Linked DNA regions of Homo sapiens: region 2 is linked to region 1. The links are contacts of gene promoters, found by promoter capture Hi-C in blood cells and fetal thymus (Javierre and others, 2016). All regions are on one chromosome and are shown on one strand. Each heading gives the region's core, a stretch centred on a gene start or on the middle of the fragment in contact. The rest is flanking DNA. Distances are from core to core; before and after follow the strand shown. Region 1 overlaps FAM107B (family with sequence similarity 107 member B). Region 2 holds the start of RPP38 (ribonuclease P/MRP subunit p38).

What was found. Contacts are between HindIII fragments. The CHiCAGO score rates a contact against its expected background, and 5 or more counts as called.
Region 2: a contact is called between the fragment with the promoter of RPP38 here and a fragment that was not itself captured in region 1, in 1 of 17 cell types (neutrophils). The highest score is 5.1, in neutrophils.

Annotation. Positions count from the first base shown.
Region 1 is chr10:14,619,385-14,626,356 of GRCh38, forward strand. All of the region lies in intron 2 of FAM107B (family with sequence similarity 107 member B), which reads right to left. Among named protein-coding and RNA genes, the nearest start is that of FAM107B, 150 kb to the right of the region's middle. The HindIII fragment of the contact is 2,543 bases long and covers 104-2,646 here.
Region 2 is chr10:15,092,204-15,098,655 of GRCh38, forward strand. It overlaps RPP38 (ribonuclease P/MRP subunit p38), which reads left to right and starts at 5,152. Exons shown (of 3, transcript NM_183005.5): 1 at 5,152-5,563. It overlaps RPP38-DT (RPP38 divergent transcript), which reads right to left and starts at 5,116. Exons shown (of 2, transcript NR_160789.1): 1 at 4,884-5,116; 2 at 3,182-4,662. It also overlaps the pseudogene GAPDHP45. RefSeq lists enhancers at 4,697-5,268, 5,570-5,659, 5,720-5,859 and a silencer at 5,070-5,429. The HindIII fragment of the contact is 10,027 bases long and covers 1,818-6,452 here.

The DNA.
Region 1 (6,972 bases), core at 125-2,624:
TTCTAATAGGTGAAGAGTGGTTTTAATTTTTATTTTTCTAATGGCTTATTATGTTGAGCACCTTTTCATGTGCTATTTGTCATCCATATATCTTCCTTAGCGAAGCTTCTGTTCCAGTCTTTTATCCAGTTTTTATTGGTTGTGTGTATTTTCTTAATAAGTTGTAAGAGTTCTTTTACAGGCATGTGTTTTCTAAATATTTCCTCCCCATCTATGACTTCTCTTTTTATTTCCTTAACAATGTATTTTGAAGAAGAAAAAACTTTAAATTTGAAGGCTTATTTATCCATGCCTTCTTTTACGATTTGTGTTTGTGTCCTAGCTAAAAAAAAAAAAAAAAAAAAAAACCTTTGCCCAAGCTAAGCACACAATTACATTCTCTTATGTTTTCTTTTAGAAGTTTTATAGTTTTTGCTCTTACATTTAGGTCTATGACGTATTTCAAATTAATATTTTCATATGGTGCTAGGCAATGGTGTAAAGGTTGAATTTCTTTTTTTTTCATTAGTATACAGATGTTCCATTGTTTGCTTTTTGAAAGGACTATGTCTTATACATTGATGAACTTGGTAGCTTTGTTGCAAATCAGTTGACCGTGTAAGTGTCTATCTACGTCTGGACTTTCTTTCTTTCTTTTTTTTTTTTTTTTTTTTTGAGATGGAGTCTCGCTCTGTCGCCAGGCTGGAGTGCAGTGGCACAATCTCGGCTCACTGAAACCTCCGCTCCCAGGTTCAAGCCATTCTCCTGCCTCAGCCTCCTGGGTAGCTGGGACTACAGGCGCGTGCCACCATGCCCAGCTAATTTTTGTATTTTTAGTAGAGACGGGGTTTCACCATGTTGGCCAGGATGGTCTCGATGTCTCGACCTCGTGATCCGCCCACCTTGGCCTCCCAAAGTGCTGGGATTACAGGCATGAGCCACCGCGCTTGGCCTATTTCTGGATTTTCTATCCTGTTCCATGTCTCTGTATATCTAACCTTTCATCAACACCACCCTTTCTTATTTGTATTACTTTACAGTAACTCTAAAATTCAGGTTTTGTGAGTCATCTAACTTTGTTGTTCTCCAAAATTATTTTGGTTGTACTAGGCCCTTTGCTTTCATATACATTTTAGAATAACGCTGATTTTTTTCAAAATGCTTACTGTATTTTTTTTATTATTATAATTTAAGTTCTGGGATACATGTGCAGAACATGCAGGTTTCTTACATAGGTATACACGTGCCATATTGGTTTGCTGCACCCATCAACCCGTCAACTACATTAGGTATTTCTCCTAATGCTATCCCTCTCCCAGCCCGCCATCCCCCCACAGGCCCTGGTGTGTGATGTTCCCCTCCCTGTGTCCATGTGTTCTTATTGTTCAACTCCCACTTATGAGTGAGAACATGCCGCATTTAACTGATGTCTTAATATATAGTCTTCTGACACATGAACATAGTATATCTCTCCATTTATTTAGGTCTTGTTCGATTTCCTTATCAATGTTTTGTACTTTCCAGCATACAAACCTTACATACATTTTGTTAAAGTAATCCCTAAGTATTTCTTGGTTTTGATGTTATTGTAAATTATACATTTTTAGAATTTCAATTTCCAATTATTTATTGCTTGTATTTAAAAATACAGTTGATTCCCACAGATTGACCTTGTATCTTATGAACTTGACAAACTCACATATTATATTTCTTAGTCATTTTTTAAATAGTTCTTTGGGATTTTTAATGTAGATAATCATGACTTTTGCAATAAAGACCATTTTATTTCTTAGGTTCTCTGTTTTTTTAAATTTGGCATTCTTTTCAGGGAATTTCAGGGAAGAGGCATGTCCACAGCCAGTGAGGAGAGTGAGATTTGGTTTCACATTTCGATGTTTTGAAAGCAACATTAAACTGCTGTTTATATTATGTAGACTCCTTTCTTACTTTTTCTGTTTAACAGAAAAATTCTGTGGCCCTGTTATTTGTGTTCTGTGACTGACTCCTACTGCAGACTCTTTGATTCTAGATCTTAAGTGTTCAAACTATAATATTCCCTTTGGATGAAATATTTCCTCCTGTGGTCCACTTTTTAAAACGTATATGAAATGGGACATTTTGTGGCTAGACATAAGCCAACGCCACAGGGCAAGGAAAAATTAAAACAAGACATTTGATTAAAGAGTGAAGACAAGGAATTAAAGAATATAAAAAGGAAACTAATTTTTACCTTAGTCAGGCTGCAATTCTATTAAAAGAAACAGGATACATGGCCCTGAGAACTCCCCTAGGTTCCCAGACTAGAAGCATCTGTTGATTTGAAGCTGGGGAAGAGAGGAAGGAGCATAAACAAGATTTGAAACAGGATTTGGCTTTTTTTGAGGCCTTCCCAGCCGATGTGGGGTGGCACCAGCCCCATTCCACAGCTCGCTTGTTAGCTGCTGAAAGCGGAGTATAACGCTTGGAGAGCAAAAAGAAAGGGAAGGAAAAATTCTTCAGAGTAAAAAAAAATGTACAGAAGTACCTTGCAGTTAAGAGAGGGTCTGCCAAGTCAATGAACACTAACAATAAAATATGTTCAAGTTGCTCTGTGATTCCAGGTCTTTTCTCTTCCAACTAATCAGATGCATCTTAAATACCCCAAAACATGACCGCTTATACCAACAAAGCTTTTCCACAGTCTCTCCATGGAGTAACATTCCTGGCTTTTCATCTTGGCTTCTCCATCAACACATTTAATAAAGTCCATCTTTCAATATTCATTCAATAAACATCCATGCATCCAACGGGGGCCAGGCAATATGTCAGGACCTAAGAATATGGAGATGAAAAATGAGGTCACTGCCCTCAGCAGACTTACAGCCTAGCAGAGGAGACAGACATTGGAGCAAACATAATACAATAAATGCTGTGATGGACAAGCACCTGGGAGCTAGTATGAGAGATTTTTTTTTTTTTTTTTGAGATGGAGTCTCGCTGTATTGCCCAGGCTGGGGTGCAGTGGTGTGATCTCGGCTCACTGCAACCTCTGCCTCCCTGGTTCAGAGATTCTCCTGCCTCAACCTCCCGAGTAGCTGGGACTACAGGTGCATGCCACCATGCCTGGCTAATTTTTGTATTTTTAGTAGAGACGGGGTTTCACTATGTTGGCCAGGCTGGTCTGGAACTCCTGACCTCGTGATCCACCCGCCTTGGCCTCCCAAAGTGCTGGGATTACAGGCATGAGATTCTTAAACCAGGCCAGAGAGAGAAAGTCAGAAAGCTTCCTGGAAGAGAAGGCATCTAAGCAGCACATTAAAGCTTCCGTACACTAGACACACTCTTATTGGCTATTTTGGTTCAAGTACATGGTCAGTTAATCAGAACAGGAAATTACAGAAACATAATGTATGCCCTAAACACTTAATTTAACATAAACATATGTTGAGCATTTGTGTCCCAGTTTATTTGACTGCAGGCTCACAGTTTTCCTTTAAACATAAATCTTCTGATTGGAGTTCCCTGTAGAAATCACAGGGATTTCTTTCCTGTAGAAATCACCACACTCCTAATGCATTCATTAACTACACAATTTCTAGTTTGCCTCTTCAAAGGGGAACAGGAATGTGGAGAGAATTGCAAAGCAACCTGAGTAAAGCATCCTTCTTGACTGATACTAGTTTATCCATCTGATACAATTCTCTTACCCACACCTAATTTGACAGCATTTTGTTTTAAGCTGCTCATGTTCATTCTTGTCAAAGCAATTGACTTGATTTTGATTATCACAACCCTCTTTCTTTTGGTGTTCATCTTTTGTTGATTTAATATTTAATTATACAACAGTATTAAAATAACAACTAGCACAACAACGCAATAAAGCAATAAGGCAAACGCACCTTATTCTTCTTAAGCAAACAACTCAATCAGTAGACACAGAAGTAGGTGGAGGACAGCTTATCACCTGCAAAAGTCCAGCAGGCCACAAGACTCACCCTGTGCATCTTTCATCAGGAATTTAGGTGACAGTTAATCCCAACTGTGGCTAAATAAAGATCTGGTAAAACATCTACTGCAGAAAAGGTACAGACATTCAAAGGAGAGTGACCAACACAGAGAGCTGAGATGGGCACAAAGGAAGCACACATATTCAGAGGAGGAGTCGGGAGAGCTCAGGCGTCAAGCTAACTAGCTCAAAACTGGGTCAGCGTGGTGGCTTACGCCCGTAATCCCAGCATTTTGGGAGGCCAAGGTGGGCAGATCACATGAGGCCAGGGGTTTGAGACCAGCCTGGCCAACATGGTGAAACCCCATCTCTACTAAAAATATAAAAATTAGCTGGGCGTGGTAGTGCAGGTCTGTAATCCCAGCTACTCAGGAGGCTGAGGCATGAGAATTGCTTGAACCTGGGAGGAGGAGGCCGCAGTGAGCTGAGATCGCCCACTGCACTCCAGCCTGGGGGACAGACGGGGACTCTGTCTTAAATAGATAAGTAAATCGCTCACACTTGGGCTATGTATCTTAAAGGCATATGAAACAACTCATTTTCCTTAATTTTTCTGTCGCTCAATGAGAATGTCAAACTCATCTTTCTCAACGTCAACACTGAACACTGGTGAAGACACCACTATTTTAATGAACATGCCAACATTTGTTACAAAGCCTTCTCCTGAAGAATGGAGCATCACAATATATCAGTTGTGTCATCAGCAACCACCGTACTGACCCCTAAAGGGCTCCTAGCAAACATAAAACAATGGAGAGGCAGGTGAGGGAAGCTGGTGCCCAATTCACAAAACCCACAGAGGATCATTAAAAAACCACTAGAGGCTTTGAAAGAGATCTATTAACTATACAAACAATGGAGTGGCTATAAGGATGGTGAATAAAACCATGAAAGCCATCAGAAGACGTGAGAAGTGTGGAAGCTGTTCCAAGGCTGGTGGGAAAAGCTGGAGAAGAAATGGCCAAGCCAGTTTCCACTGGGTCACGGCTTTGTCTATCCTGCCCCATCTCAAAATCAAAAGAACTTGAGGGAGTCTCAGCACTTCTGGGAGGCTGAGGAGGGTGGATCATTTGAGGTCAGGAATTGGACACCAGCTGGCCAAAACGGTGAAACCCCATCTCTGCTAAAAATACAAAAATACGCCAGGTGTGGTGGTGTGCGCCTGTAATCCTAGCTACTCGGGAGGCTGAGGCAGGAGAATTGCTTGAACCCAGGAGTTTGAGGTTGCAATATACAGAGATCCTGCCGGTGCACACCAGCCTGGATGACAGAGCAAGACTCCGTTTCAAAAAAAAAAGACTTGAGGGTCAACTCCCAAAGAACTTGAACGTCCCTGAGTCCGTTTTCGTATTTGAGCATAACAAGCTGCACTCATGACAAATGTCATAAAATAACTAAAGCAGCTGGCAAACGCAAGAAAAGAAAAACAGAGTGGGTGGAGCTGTTAAATCAATAATACAGAGGTCTGAGAAGCAGAAGCACATACATAAGGAAGTTCCTTTCTCCAGATCAGTAGATATTCAAGGGTAAGAACTCTGGTAATCCACTGATCTAGGTGGATGACAATAGTTTTGTTGATCAGAATGTCATGTGTGGCCGGGCGTGGTGGCTCACGCCTGTAATCCTGGCATTTTGGGAGGCCTAGGCAGGTGGATCACTTGAGGTCAGGAGTTTGAGACCAGCCTGGCCAACATGGTGAAATCCCGTCTCTACTAAAAATACAAAAATTAACCAGGCATGGTGGCATGCACCTGTAATTCCAGCTACTTGGGAGGCTGAGGCAGGAGAATTGCTTAAACTCGGGGAAACAGAGGTTGCAGTGAGCCAAGTTGGCACCACTGCAGTCCAGCCTGGGTGACAGAGTAAGACTGTCTCAGAAAAAAAAAAAAAAAAGGAATGTCGTGTGCGTGCGTGTGTGTGTGTGTGTGTGTATGTGTGTGTATCCCTCCCAGCCCTGGGAATTTTTCAACCTGCCATGAAATCTCTGCTTTGTCTCAGAGTCATCCTTCGTTTCATCTTCTTTGACTCTCTGATGACGCCTCATCTAGTCCCAAACACCTCTCCAGAACAATGAGCAGAGCCTGCCCCCTGCTCTGAGATGAAGCCTTTGTAACTGCTCCAGCCAGGGCCTGACAGCCATGAGTACAACTGTCCTGGCTGCTCTGCAGGGAGCTCATAAGAACAGGGAAACAGGAGGGCCCAGCTCTGCCTGGCAGCTGTGACATGGTGTGCCAAAATAGGCATTAATGTCGCGTGCAAGAGAAACAGGCAGAAGAGACAGAAGGATTTATCTCTTGTTAGAACTGAGCTGCGTTTTACAATCCAAATCAAATTTCTTGGTCATTTTTATGGTGAAATTCTCGTGGTTTCAGAGTCCAGTGCTATTGCTTAGAAGGAAAAAAAAAGTGGCACAGAAGAATAACTGAATTAAATAAATATTCAAGAGTACTTTGGCCTAGACAGATTCAGTACAACACAACAAGCAAAACCATCCGACCTCCATGCAGCTGCTCATGGATTAAAAAAAAAAAAGCTAATTTCAACAGGGCTGCTGAATAATCAAGGCTTAAAAGGAGAAGTCGTAATGGAATCTGATCTGTTGCCTACATCGTTAGAGAACATACAGCTTTGTACATCAAAGCAAAGCACATCCTCCTTCCTCATTAGAGCCAAGGGGAGGCTTGGGATACTGGGTCCCCCCACCCCGGTACACTTGGGACTCTTTTAAGACCGTGGTTGTTTTGAAGCTGGCAAAGCAGAGGAGAGAAAAGCCATCTTCTCTTATGGTAATGATTTTATTTACTCCGTTGAAGGCTGGTCACTGCTGATCACTGCCAGCCCCTGGGTCGCCTGGGATTTACAGAGGACTCTCTTCATATAGCATGAGTTCACTGAGATTGCTCCCTTCTCCTCTGTCTTCAATATACGATTCATCACATAAACAATAAAAACAATGCTGGTCTATATTTGAAGGAAATTTTACAGTTTTCAGTCAGACTGTGCAATTG
Region 2 (6,452 bases), core at 3,902-6,401, 480 kb after region 1:
CGGCTGTTCTAACAGGCCTGTCGCACTGCTGCTCTCCCGTCTCTACCTCAGAATTATCTTCCCAGGGTCGGCCTGGCTCAGTGCTTCCACTCCTCTAGGTCTTTGCTCATCTGTCATCTCAGGAGGCCTTTTATCACCCATCCTAGCACCCCCTTCCACTCTTACCTGCTTTTTCGTGTTGCTTTTGTTTTTTTCTGAGATACAGTCTCACTCTATCACCCAGGCTGGGGTGCAGTGGCATGATCTGGACTCACTGCAACTTCTGCCTCCCAGGTTCAAGTGATTCTCCTACCTCAGCCTCCCGAGTAGCTGGAATTACAGGTGTGCGCCACCATGCCCAACTAATTTTTGTATTTTTAGTAGAGACGAGGTTTCACCATGTTGGCGAGGCTGGTCTTGAACTCCTGACCTCAAGTGATCTGCCCACCTTGGCCTCCCAAAGTGCTGGGATTACAGGCATGAGCCACCGCGCCTGGCCTTCCCTGCTTTTTTTCTGTAGCACTTTGAATCATCTGACAACTTAAATCGTTTACTTTGTTTACCGTTTCTCCTCCTTTAGAACTCTGGCTCACCACTTTATCCCCAACACTTAAAATTCAATGAATATTGTACCTGTAGGAAAAGGCGGGGGGGGGGGGAAGAAAGGGAGGAGGGGGATAAAAAGGAAGGATTAAATGTCTTTCAAATTTCCCCGTTTTCATAAAACAGCACTGCTGAGACCCCTGACAACCTTGGACATCTCCACATAGCCACAGAGCCAAGGCCTGACTGCGGTCTACCCTGAGTCCTCGCCGAATGCCTGTGATTTCCCTGGGAGCAAGGCAAGGCTTCCCTTTTTTTTTTTTTTTTTTTTTTGATTGAGTGCAGGAAACTTTATTGATGGTACACGACAAGGTGAGGCTCCCATGGTGTCTCCCTCTTCAGGGCGTCTGCGTGGAAACTGTGAGGAGGGGAGATTCTCAGTGGGGGCGGGGGCTGAGTGGGGCAGGGACTCCGCAGCAGTGAGAGCCTCTCTCGTCCTCTCGTGCTCTCACTGGGGCTGGTGGTCCGGGGGTCTTACTCCTTGGAGGCCATGTGGGCTCCGCCACCCTGTTGCTGTAGCCAAACTCACTGTCATATCAGGAAATGTGCTTGACAAAGTGGTCGTCGAGGGCAATGCCAGCTCCAGCATCGAAGGTGAAAGAGTGGGTGTCACTGTTGAAGTTGGAGGAGATGACCTGGTGCTCGGTGTAGCCCGGGATGCCCTTGAAGAGCCCTCTGAAGCCTGCTTCACCACCTTCCTGATGTCATCCTATTTGGCAGGTTTTTCCAGATGGCAGTTCAGGCCCACAACTGACACGTTGGCAGTGGGGACACAAAAGGCCATGCCAGGGAGGTTCCCATTCAGCTCAGGGATGACCTTGCCCACAGGGCTTCCCTATCTTGTGGGAGAGTCTCACAAGGCTGTTTCTCATCCATGTCCCTAGTTTAGTTGAGACTAGGGCTTTCCATCTTCCCCTTCTTTCTCCGCACCCCCTACAACCTGCTCCACTTTAGGATGGAGCCGCAGGCTTCTGTGTAAATCTGTAGAACTGCTTGCTGAAGTTTAGTTTGTTCCTCGACAGAGTGACCCACCACTCATAAGACCTGTCATCTGACCTCTGAGATTGGGAATGCTGTCCCATGGGATTAGAGATGCAGGGAGCTGACATCATGTTGGTCTTGATTTTGCTGTTTTGTGAGACCTGCGAATTGCTCAACTGCTTGAAACTCCTCACCTTCACTTGTCTCTATGGACACAGATATTCTTTGGAGTACTATACCGTTCCAATTAGTAAAGCTTTCAGTATTCATTTTGCATCTCATCATTAAAGTTTATTCTTAGTAACTGATTTAAAATAATGAATTGTTTACATAACAACTACTGTTACATAACACACACACACACACACACACACACACACACACAAACACACACACACAGCTAAGGTCAGAATACCATGGAGGAAAAGAAGAATCTGGTGGTCAATTCCCTTACATTCTTCTATTGACAAATTTTCTTGTTGGGACCTTCACTTATTTCATCAAAGGATTGTGGCTAATGATCTAATTTATTACTCAGAATCTTTTTATTTATTTGTTTTGGAGACAGGGTCTCACTCTGTTGCCCAGGCTAGAGTGCAGTGGTGTGATCATAGCTCACTGTAGCCTCCACCTTCTATGCTCAAGCAATCCTCCTGCCTCAGCCTCAGGAGTGGCTGGGACTACAGGCACACACCACCATGCCCAGCTAATTTTTTTTTTTTTTTTTTCTGTAGAGACGGGGTTTCGTCATGTTGCCTAGGCTGGTCTTGAACTCCCGGGCTCAAGCAATCCTCCTGCCTCAGCCTCCCAAAGTGCTGGGATTACAGGTGTGAGCCACCACAGCCGGCCATCACTCAGAATCTTAAGTCATTGTCAAATAATGGAAAGCATACAAATCAAACAGTAGTCCAATTCTAGAATTAATATAAAAAGAAAGCTCTAATATACAAAGACCAAACAGATTTTACAGGATAAAACAACTGTCATTAAAAAGTAAAACTGGCAGGTGTGGTGGTGCACATCTGTAATCCCAGCACTCTGGGAGGCCAAGGTAGGAGCATTACTTGAGCCCAGGAGTTTGAGACCAGCCTGAGCAACATGGCAAGACCCCGTCTCTACAAAAAGTACAAAAATTAGCCAGGCATGGTGGCATGCTCCTGTAGTCCCAGCTACTCAGGAGGCTGAGGTGGGAGGATCACTTGAGCTTGGGAGGAGGTTGCAGTGAGCTGAGATGGTGCCACTGCACTTTAGCCTGGGCAACAGAGCAAGACCCTGTCTCCAAAAAAAAAAAACCGTTTCTTCAGAATAGGATATCAAATATGTAAAGTAATAATTTGAGAAACATGAAAAAGCGTTATGTGTAAAGAAAATCAGAAGACTTAATCTGTATTAGTTTAATGTAAAAGCATGCACATATGTGAAACAAAGTAGAAGGGAACACTAAAGAAAAAAATGGGTGTGATTGGGTCATGGGAGAATGTTTTTTACTTTTTGGTTGTAATGTTTGTGTGATACAAGAGGGACAGAAATTACTTTCGAAATGTACTTGTTAATTTTAGCAAAATCCTCGTGGAAATTATACTGCTAGTTTTAAAATAAAACACAAGCACTAAAATAATAAAGGTTATGTTTCATTTTTATTAACTTAGTTTTGCCACGGTTGAGACTGGATTTGCCATAGTTCAATTTATCAAGCACTTAACTATGTGTTCCGCACATAATAATCATCTTAGCATAGAGGAACATGTCTTCTAATCCGCACAAGAGATACTATTTTTATCACGTCATAGAGGAGGTTAATAAACTTGCCTAGGTCATAAGATCTTCAGTTGATGAAGTTAGGATTTCAACCCAGAGCCAAGTAATGTAATGGCTGATGTTTTCCACAGAGAAAATGTAAGCCGAGATGATGCTCAAACTATAAATCTGGAACCTTAGGGGGACAAAAACGTATGGATGTCTCCTTCCCATTACTTTAGCATTTTAATTAGATTCCTGTGTCTCTATTTGTCTTTGGAAATGCAAGCTGCTTGCAGTTCATCATAGCTAACTCACACAATTCATTTTATGAAACACAAACCTGTTCTCACAAACTCACTGTCATCTCTTTTTAATCTTTCTAATTGTGATAAAAATCATACTGCACTTTACCCTGTGTAACCTCCAATGATCTTTGACCAAAAGCCAAATCTTTTTTTTGTTGTGTTTACTTATGGACAGTTAGGTTCTACATAGGTACTTAAACATGAAAATTGAAATCATAGAGGCTGGGCACAGTAGCTCATGCCTGTAATCCCAGCACTTTGGAAGGCCGAGGTGGGCGGATCACCTGAGGTCAGGAGTTCGAGACCAGCCTGACTAACATGGTGAAACACCGTCTGTACTAAAAATACAAAAATTAGCTGGGCTGGTGGCCCGTGCCTGTAACCCCAGCTACTCCGGAGGCTGAGGCAGGAGAATCACCTGAACCTGTGAGGCGCTGGCTGGAGTGAGCCAGGTTCGCGCCATTGCACTCCAGCCTGGGCAACAAGGGCAAAACTCTGTCTCAACAACAATAATAATAATAAATAAAAGAAAGAAATCACAGAAACTATACCAGAAAATAGGATACAAAACCAACAGTGAGGAGATTGAGAAAAGGAGGCAGATACGTAAAGAGGAAAAGGAAGGGGGCCCAAGTAAGGCCGGAAAAAGCGGGGAGAAGGAGGAGGCTCATTAGGTCAGAAGCAACCTGCCGTCTTCTAAGTTCTGGCCAAGGGTAGATCAACAGATCCAGATTCCTGAGCTTTAAAATGTTATTCGGCCGCTTCATCACTTGTCCCCGACTTTGCAGCGACTCCGATGGTAGCCTGAGTCTCCATTGCTTGGAGCAGCCACAGTGGACACTGGACGGGATATTCTGTGCAGCTGTTGCTGAACTCAAGGCAACTCTTACTGCCTTTCTCTTTTCGGGCTCAAGATTCCCTGCATTATTGCCCATAGGCATGTGTTTTACCCCATACTCCTTCTCCCTTTTATCTTGATTTTCGCGGTGCTGGGGAGTCTGCAGGGATTCCATGGCGACGGGCTCACTGGGACAGGGGCTGGGGTTGTGCGTCCCTGAGGCAAGGCAAATACAGAAAAGCGAATAGAGACAGAGGGCTAAGATTCCAAAGCACTGAAAGGTAGAAACTGGGTTAGAAGAGAGAGGGGAGCACAAACGCCCGGAGAGAGCGAGCCCTCGGGATACCATTGGCTATAGGCTGGCCTCCGAACAACTGGACGGTCCAAGTCCTGAGCGTCTGGTTACCCGGGCAACCGCATGGTCTCGCGATACATACCTCGCGCCTGCGCACTGCCCCTGTAGCGGGGGTGGGGGGACCCGGTCCGGAGACTCCACCCCGGGGCCTAAACTCGAGTCTAAAAGATTGGGCCTCGTTGTGTCGTTTCCGGGTCGCGCGACGCTGTGGGCCGCTTTCCCCTCTCCGGAGTGACCTAACACAGGATAACGAAACCTGCACTGCTCCGAGCGCTTCCTCCCCGGCCCGTCGCGTCTGCGAGGCGAGGCCGGGAGGCGAGGGCTCTGCGCACGCGCGGCGCAGGCGCACTGGGCGCCGGTGCTGTTGCCTTCAGGTGACCACGGATTCGCCATCGTGAGTTCCAGGTGGGCGCGCGGGGCCCACGTAGGGCAGGAGGCCAGCCCCGGGGGGATCGGGCCCGGGACTCTGCGGAATCTGGAGGCCGAAGCCCGCGCGCACGCAGGGTCTCTGCTGCTTCCCCAACGCCTGTTGCGTGGCCGCAGGACCCGCCGCCCTCCCGGTTGGGCCGCCCAGTCCCGGGCCGGGCGCGTGCACCCAGAGCTTCCGCGTTTCTAGTCCGGCTCCTCTGCTGGATTGCAGCGCCGGCTGGGCACCAGGAGTACAAAGCGAAAACCCCCGCCGGCCCTTCTGTTCTCCACGGTCTCCAAGGAGACACGGACAACAGAACAACACTTCCGTGTGCTAAATAGTAAAGCACCAAGGTACTCGATCCAGGGGCGGCGTGCAGTGGGGAGGTGAGCTTTGGGTCGGCCGTCGCCCCTCGGCTACCGGCGGGATCCAGAAACCGGGAGTCACCACCAATACCGTTCTCAACTTTACTTCCAGCTGGTCACTACTGTGTCGGGAGATTCTACCTTCTTTTCCGACTAACATGTATTTTTCTCCAGTCCTTTCTGCGGCGTCTCTAGTGCAGGCCACCGTCATTTCTAACCTGGACGACTCCAGGAGCGTCTTTGCTGCTCGGGGACTCTTCCTTTGCCCAGATCCACAAAGATCTATAACGTCTTTCTAATCACGACACCTCTGCTTTAGATGTTAAAGTTGCTTCACACTGGAACGCTTGCAAAGGTCTTCATTATCTGGTCCTTACCCACCTTTCCTAGTTTCTCACCGCTTTCTCTAGCATCTCTGCCCCAGCCACATTGAACTTATTTGAACGTGTTTTTTTTTTTTTTTTTTTTTTTGAGACATAGCAGTCGCCCAGGCTGGAGTGCAGTGGCGCGATTCCGGCTCACTGCAACCTCCGCCTGCCGGGTTCAAGCGATTCTCCTGCCTCAGCCTCCCGAGTAGCTGGGACTACAGGCGCCTGCCACCACGCCCGGCTAATTTTCGTATTTTTAGTAGAGACGGGTCACCACGTTGGTCAGGCTAGTCTCGATCTACTGACCTCAAGTGATCCGCCCGCCTGGGCTTCCCAAAGTGCTGGGATTACAGGCGTGAGCCACCTCGCCAGCCAACTTATTTCTTTTAATACTGAGATACCTTTCTTTACTCCATACTTCCTTTGGTAGGCATTGTTTAGATGTAGGTTAAGAGGTCCGGCCCGGCGCGGTGGCTCACGCCTGTAGTCCCAGCACTTTGGGAGGCCGA